Regions from separate parts of the Homo sapiens genome. Here region 2 is linked to region 1. Evidence: promoter capture Hi-C in human tissues and cell types (Jung and others, 2019). All regions are on one chromosome and are shown on one strand. Each heading gives the region's core, a stretch centred on a gene start or on the middle of the fragment in contact. The rest is flanking DNA. Distances are from core to core; before and after follow the strand shown. Region 1 holds the start of TNS1 (tensin 1). Region 2 has its middle 97 kb from the start of TESHL.

Region 1 (2,744 bases), core at 57-2,556:
CCAGGCAAGAGAACTTTTCTTGCTAAGTGACTCAGTCTAGGAACGAGGTCTCCAAGTGCCTACTCTGGGAGGGCTCTTATGTGTTGACGTGAGTTGGACTGTGTCCTTGTGTGTGTGTGTGTCCACAGGAGGGTGTGGGGCTGAGCCCTCCCTCCTTCTCCTGGACAGCTCCAAAGAACAGAGCGGGTGATTCACTGGCCCCCACCCACCCTCAGTTGGTCCAGCCAAGGCCAGAGCTCAAAGAGGAAGGGTTTTTTTTGGAGGGGAACGTGGTGGTTCCAGACAATGAAGGCCTGGGGCAGACTTTGCTGGATTCCCCCTTAGTGCTCCGTGGGAATACTTTTGGGTTTTGACCCAGCCTCCTTTCCACCCTCTAGACCCCCAACAATTGTCCCTGGGCAGAGGTGGGGGCGAGGGGAGGGGAGGGCTGGTGGGCAGGGGACACTGAGGGGAAGAAATAGGCCTGTGGAATGGTGGGAGGGGAGAACTGGGCCCAGGGAGGGGGAGAGGGGAGGAGGGGGAGGAAGTGGGGAAATGCAAACCAAATGTTGGCCCCGGGTACAGTCAAGAAAAACACACTCTCGCGGGAGCCTGGAGCGGGGCTCCCTTTCAGAAGGGCAGGAAAGGCTGGGACAGATGTTTGCAGGAAAGAAAGAAAGAAGGGGGAAAAAAAAAGAAATAGGAAAAAAATTGGAATGAAACCCACAGCCTGGGGGCAGGGCCATTCTTCCCCAGTCTCGGGCCCTATTTCTTCTGTGTTAAGGCCTGTCCTGGGCTCTGAGCTTGGCGCGTGGGCACCAGAGTCTGTCCCAGTCTGTGTGTGCAAATGCATGTGTGTTCCGAGGAGGCCAGGAAGGCAGGCACGGGTACTCAGAGAAGGGGAGGGGCCAAGGCACCCTGAGTGTGCTGATTGTGTGGGCCTGGGGCTGTCTGTTCATCCATCAGTGGTCTGGAGGGTTCCAGGAGTGAAGGCCCCCAGGCTGGTTTGCCAGGGGCGGGGGTCTGCAGTGAGGAGGGAGGACTCCAGGCCTACCAGCACCAGATCAGAAGACTGAGGAGCCTTGGTGGCACACAGGGGTTGTGTGTCCGGGGGTGGGGGGCACGGCCTGGGGGGGCCCTGCCTCTGGTAGCTTTCCCTTTTCCCTGTCCCCTTTACACCCCCTGCAAAGCAGGGTTCCTGACCCTCAAGGCCACCGGTGGAGCCTGGGAGGAGGGAGGAGAGAGGAGGCTGGGACGAGGGGTGGAGTGGGGGGAGGAGGAGGAGGAGGGAGGGTGAGCTGGAGGCAGCAGGGCGAGAGGCCCAGCAGATGCTGGCGGAGCCGGAGCAGCCGCGGACTCAGAGAGCCCTTCTGCCAGCGCCGCGGGGACTCTAGCTTCAGGGGCTCTTCACAGGCCCTGGGCGTGCCTCAGTGACGGGACCCAGCAAAGATGACGTGGATCTGTCTGTCCTGCATGCTCTGGGTAGGTCTGGCTGCTTTAGCTGCGACGTTACTCTTCCTCAAACCCCCCGCCCCCCACCGGCCCCTGCCACCTTATCCTTTTGCTGAGAGCCCGGGGTCGGGGGGTGTCAGTCTTGAAGGAGGGGCCTTTCTGTCTCTGACCTACAGAAGGACAGACTGACTTGAGCAACCCTCAGCCGGAAGACTTTCCCCACCAACAGGGCCCAGGCCCAGGGTCCCGGGTCAGTACATCCCCTGCCCCACCCCCCCACCCCCCAATGGAGTCCCAGAGCTGTAAGTGGAAGGAGGCCACAGAGAAGTTTGCTTCTCTTTAGAGCCTTTCCTCCCGACTTGCATCCTACAATGGGGTGAAAATTCTTCACCGCCCCCCCTCAGTTGCTGAGCCCAAGATCTTGAGGAGGAGGCAGTGGTGGGGCTGGGGAGCAAAGAATAGTAGTCCAAAATATTAAGTCTGGAAGAGCTGGGCTGTGGGAGAATTCTCAGAGTCCATCCCTTTTATTCCTTCTACACCCAGTTTCAGCTTCCACCCACTGCCATCCCTTCCTCCACAGCCCTCCCCTGCTACCAAGACCTCTCCATCCTGGAGGAGGGAGCCATGGCCCGCTCTTCCCCCTTTCTCTCTTGGCTCCAGGTTCAGGGAGGTGGGTTTCAGGATGGGGATGCCAGGGGGGCCAGCAGAGAGGCCTGGGGGCCACGTGGTGAAGGTTAAAAGTCTTAAGGCCAGACCTGGGCTGAGGCTCCTGGGTAAAGGGGGATGGGAGAGGGCTGCCTGCTGCAGAAGGGCTGGGGGTCAGAGGAGGAGAGGACCCCTTCCTCAGAGGGGCTCCTGTGGGGCTGTCTTGGCCAGGCAAAGGCATGCATGGGGTCAGGAGGGTGAGGAAGTCGTCCCTGGCTGAGGTTACTGTTGGGCTCTGAGAGAGTGATGGCTGGTTTGGGGGAGGGGGCTTCAGGGCTGTGATCCAGATGTGGCCTTTCCTGTCCCTTTCCTTGTTCTGGCCAGTCCTCGGGAGGGCCCTCTTGGCCCAGGCAAGCCCATGCTGGGGGCAGTTGTGGGAACACAAACTCGGGCAGCCAGGTGTCCTCTGGGCAAAGAAAGAAAGGGTGGGGGAGGGGGCCTGGAATGAGGCGGTTTGGGTGGCATGTTGGGCTGGGGTGCTGGGATGGATTGGATTAATAGATTGAGAGTGACTGGGGAGGCCTGCACACAGGATGCATTTGTGGTTTACTGGGCTGGTGTTGACATCTGGGAAATGGGAGCCTTGGCCAGGTTCGTCTCTGTGCTGA
Region 2 (2,962 bases), core at 113-2,612, 1.0 Mb after region 1:
TGCTGGAGAAGAGGAAGAAAGAGCTTTGAGAACACAGCTCATAGCTTGACCCAGTTTCCCCTGCCTGCTTCCCTAGATCTGCCTTGTTCTGCAGAGAACCTTCTCTGACACCTTCCCATCCAAGCAACCACCATGGAAAATGGGCAAGAAGGAGCAAGTTCAGGAGACCAGAAAGACCTCCAGGTATCAAGGGAGCCCCCAGGTCTCCCACCCCATACCCTGGCTGCAGAGCCGCTGACCCTCTCCTGCCCCAGCCTAGAGCTTTCCAGGGCCAGGACAAAGATGGAGCACTCCTTAAGGAGGCCCTGCCGCAGGACCCAAGCTGACATGCTCTTTTAGGGTGTCTCAGCCTTTCTCAGAACACAAGTTGGTCTAGAATCAGCACTCTGCAAACTATAAGAATAAAAAAAGAATCCCACTTTTGGGGAGCACATGGTGGGAGAACCAGTGCTGTGACTCATGCTGGTCCCAAGAGACAACACCCTGACCCTCAGCAGCCCCCTGCAGCACCTGCTTCCTCCACCGCCTACTGCTCTCAACTCCCATCCAGACCTTCATCCTGCCAGCACAAATCAGCAGAATGGATGTTGGACAGCTGGAATCACCATCAGCTCTCACTATGTCTCTGATTCCTGCAGGGCCTGCCCCATGCCCTCTTCCCCCACCCTCCCATGGCCTCTCACTCAAGTTCATTCTTCTCCTGGCACCAACAGCCATTTTCCACCACCCTGCTGGCCTCTGTCCAGCCAACCCCCCAAGGGGTTTTCACTCTCCACCTCATCTGTCTCCTTCATGCTCCTCCTGCTGGAACTGGGTCTTCCAACTCTATTTCTAGATTCTTTCCATTGCCCTCTCTTTGGCTAGGTGGCTTGCTTCTCCAACCCCCCTTGCATTTCTCTGGCCCCTAATAAGCATCTCCAGGATGGAAGATGGGGAGCTACAGTTTGCAACTATGTTCTTTGTTCCTAATGGAGTCCTCCTTCCCATCCTCCCCAATCCTGCCATAGAAACACAGAGCTTTGATGAAAGGAGGGCTTTGTCACTACCTCCTGTGCCTGGAAGAGGTCCTCAAGTCCTCTCTGTGATGTCCCTGCCACACAGGGAGAAAGAGGGATAATTCCTGTCTGTGCTGGACAGAACCCTGGTTCCATAGCCTCCTCCATCCACTCTTTCACTGACTTTTCATTCCCCACTCTCTTCCTCTGCCCATACCCAGGTAGGAGGAGTATACTCTCAAATTCCACTACTGTAGTTAACATTCACACAGATTATTAGGTGCTAAAACTTTCCATAGGTACTAGTCACTAAGGGCTACTGACTTGTTTCTATCTTTGGGTGATTCTTTAAGCTGGGACAGAGCCCTCTTTTTCTAAACCTGGGAATGTCATTTCTTTCATCTTGGGCCCTCTATTCGATTGGGCTCTCTCCTGCACTCCATGCTGCCTACACCTGGCCCCTTCAATCTCTCAAAGCTCCACTTCTAAGAATCCTGAAAATATCTTTCCTTACATTGGTGAATACCCAGAACAATTTTGCATTCCAAAAATGATTTCTATTGGCTCTCTTTACTTTTAAAAAGACTTAGCCTACATTTACAACTGCAAATATATGTAGATATATGTGTACATATATGTACATGTATGTGTACACACACATGCACACATATATAACATACGTGTGTATGTATGTATACACACACATATATATAATCTTGCCTCTACTCACTCCTCAATCTGCAGTATTTAGTCTTCCTGAGATTGAGATAGAGGAATATTTCAGAGAACATTGTAAAAAAAATTTTCAGAAAAAACTGCAGTGACAAAGCATTAGAGAAACTAAAATACATGACTATGCATCAAGAATAATTATTACTTTGTTCATGTAATTTTAATAAATAATAAATTTAAAGAAGCTTTTTATAATTTTGATTTAATGAGTATATACACATATATTATTTTAGCTTTTTAGAAAGAGTTTTACTTTTGCCCGGGCCATGGTAGCTCACACCTGTAATCCCAGCACTTTGGAAGGCTGAGGTGGGTGGATCACCTGAGGTCAGGGGTTCAAGACCAGCCTGACCAACATGGTGAAACCCCGTCTCTACTAAAAATACAAAAAATTAGCTGGGCATGGTGGTGCATGCCTGTAATCCCAGCTACTCTGGAGGCTGAGGCAGGAGAATTGCTTGAACCCGGGAGGCGGAGGCTGCAGGGAGCCAAGATCACACCATTGCACTCCAGCCTGGGCGACAGAGTGAGACTCTGTCTAAAAAAAAAAAAAAAAAAAAAAAAAAAAAAAAAAAAAAAAAAAAAAAAAACAGAAAGAGCTTTACTTTTGAGAGCAGTTTTGAATAGAACTATTTTAACTATTTTATAAGCTCCACAATATAACAAAACTAATTTTTGGTCAACAAACAAATTAAAAATAATTATTTTATCATCCTCTTTGACTCTTAAGGATGACAATAAGTTCTACGGCAACCCTGAGTGTAGAGGAACACAAGAAAAAGTATCAGCTGGGCGCAGTGGCCCATGCCTGTAATCCCAAAACTTTGGGAGGCCAAGTGGGTGGATCACCTGAGGTCAGCGGTTCGAGATCAGCCTGGCCAACACAGTGAAACCCCATCTCTACTAAAAATACAAAAATTAGTGGGGCATGGTGGCAGGTGCCTATAATCCTAGCTACTCGGGAGGCTGAAGCAGGAGAATTGCTTGAACCCAGGGGAGGGAGGTCGCACTGAGCCGAGATAGTGCCACTTCACTCCAGCCTCAGCAAAAGAGTGAAACTTCATCTCAAAAAAACGAAAAGAAAAAGCATCGTAACTGAAGCTGCTGTTACCTCCAAGCCTAAAAGAGCAAGAGGAAAAAGTGGCATGGAAACCCGGGAAGAATCACGTAGAAATGGCTTCTTGAAAGGACTTTTTGTTCAAAGGACATCAGCTCCTGATGATCTCACAGAGGAG

What was found. The method cuts DNA at HindIII sites, captures the fragments that hold promoters and counts their contacts. A contact is called where the count stands out against the background at its distance.
Region 2: a contact is called between a fragment that was not itself captured here and the fragment with the promoter of TNS1 in region 1, in 2 of the 25 tissues and cell types used here (bladder and thymus).

The regions. Positions count from the first base shown.
Region 1 is chr2:218,001,557-218,004,300 of GRCh38, reverse strand. TNS1 (tensin 1) reads left to right here and starts at 1,306. Exons shown (of 33, transcript NM_001387777.1): 1 at 1,306-1,461. The coding sequence starts at 1,429. RefSeq lists enhancers at 21-120, 1,861-2,361, 2,362-2,744. The HindIII fragment of the contact is 30,357 bases long and covers 1-2,744 here.
Region 2 is chr2:216,965,805-216,968,766 of GRCh38, reverse strand. No RefSeq gene overlaps it. Among named protein-coding and RNA genes, the nearest start is that of TESHL, 97 kb to the right of the region's middle. The HindIII fragment of the contact is 8,095 bases long and covers 1-2,962 here.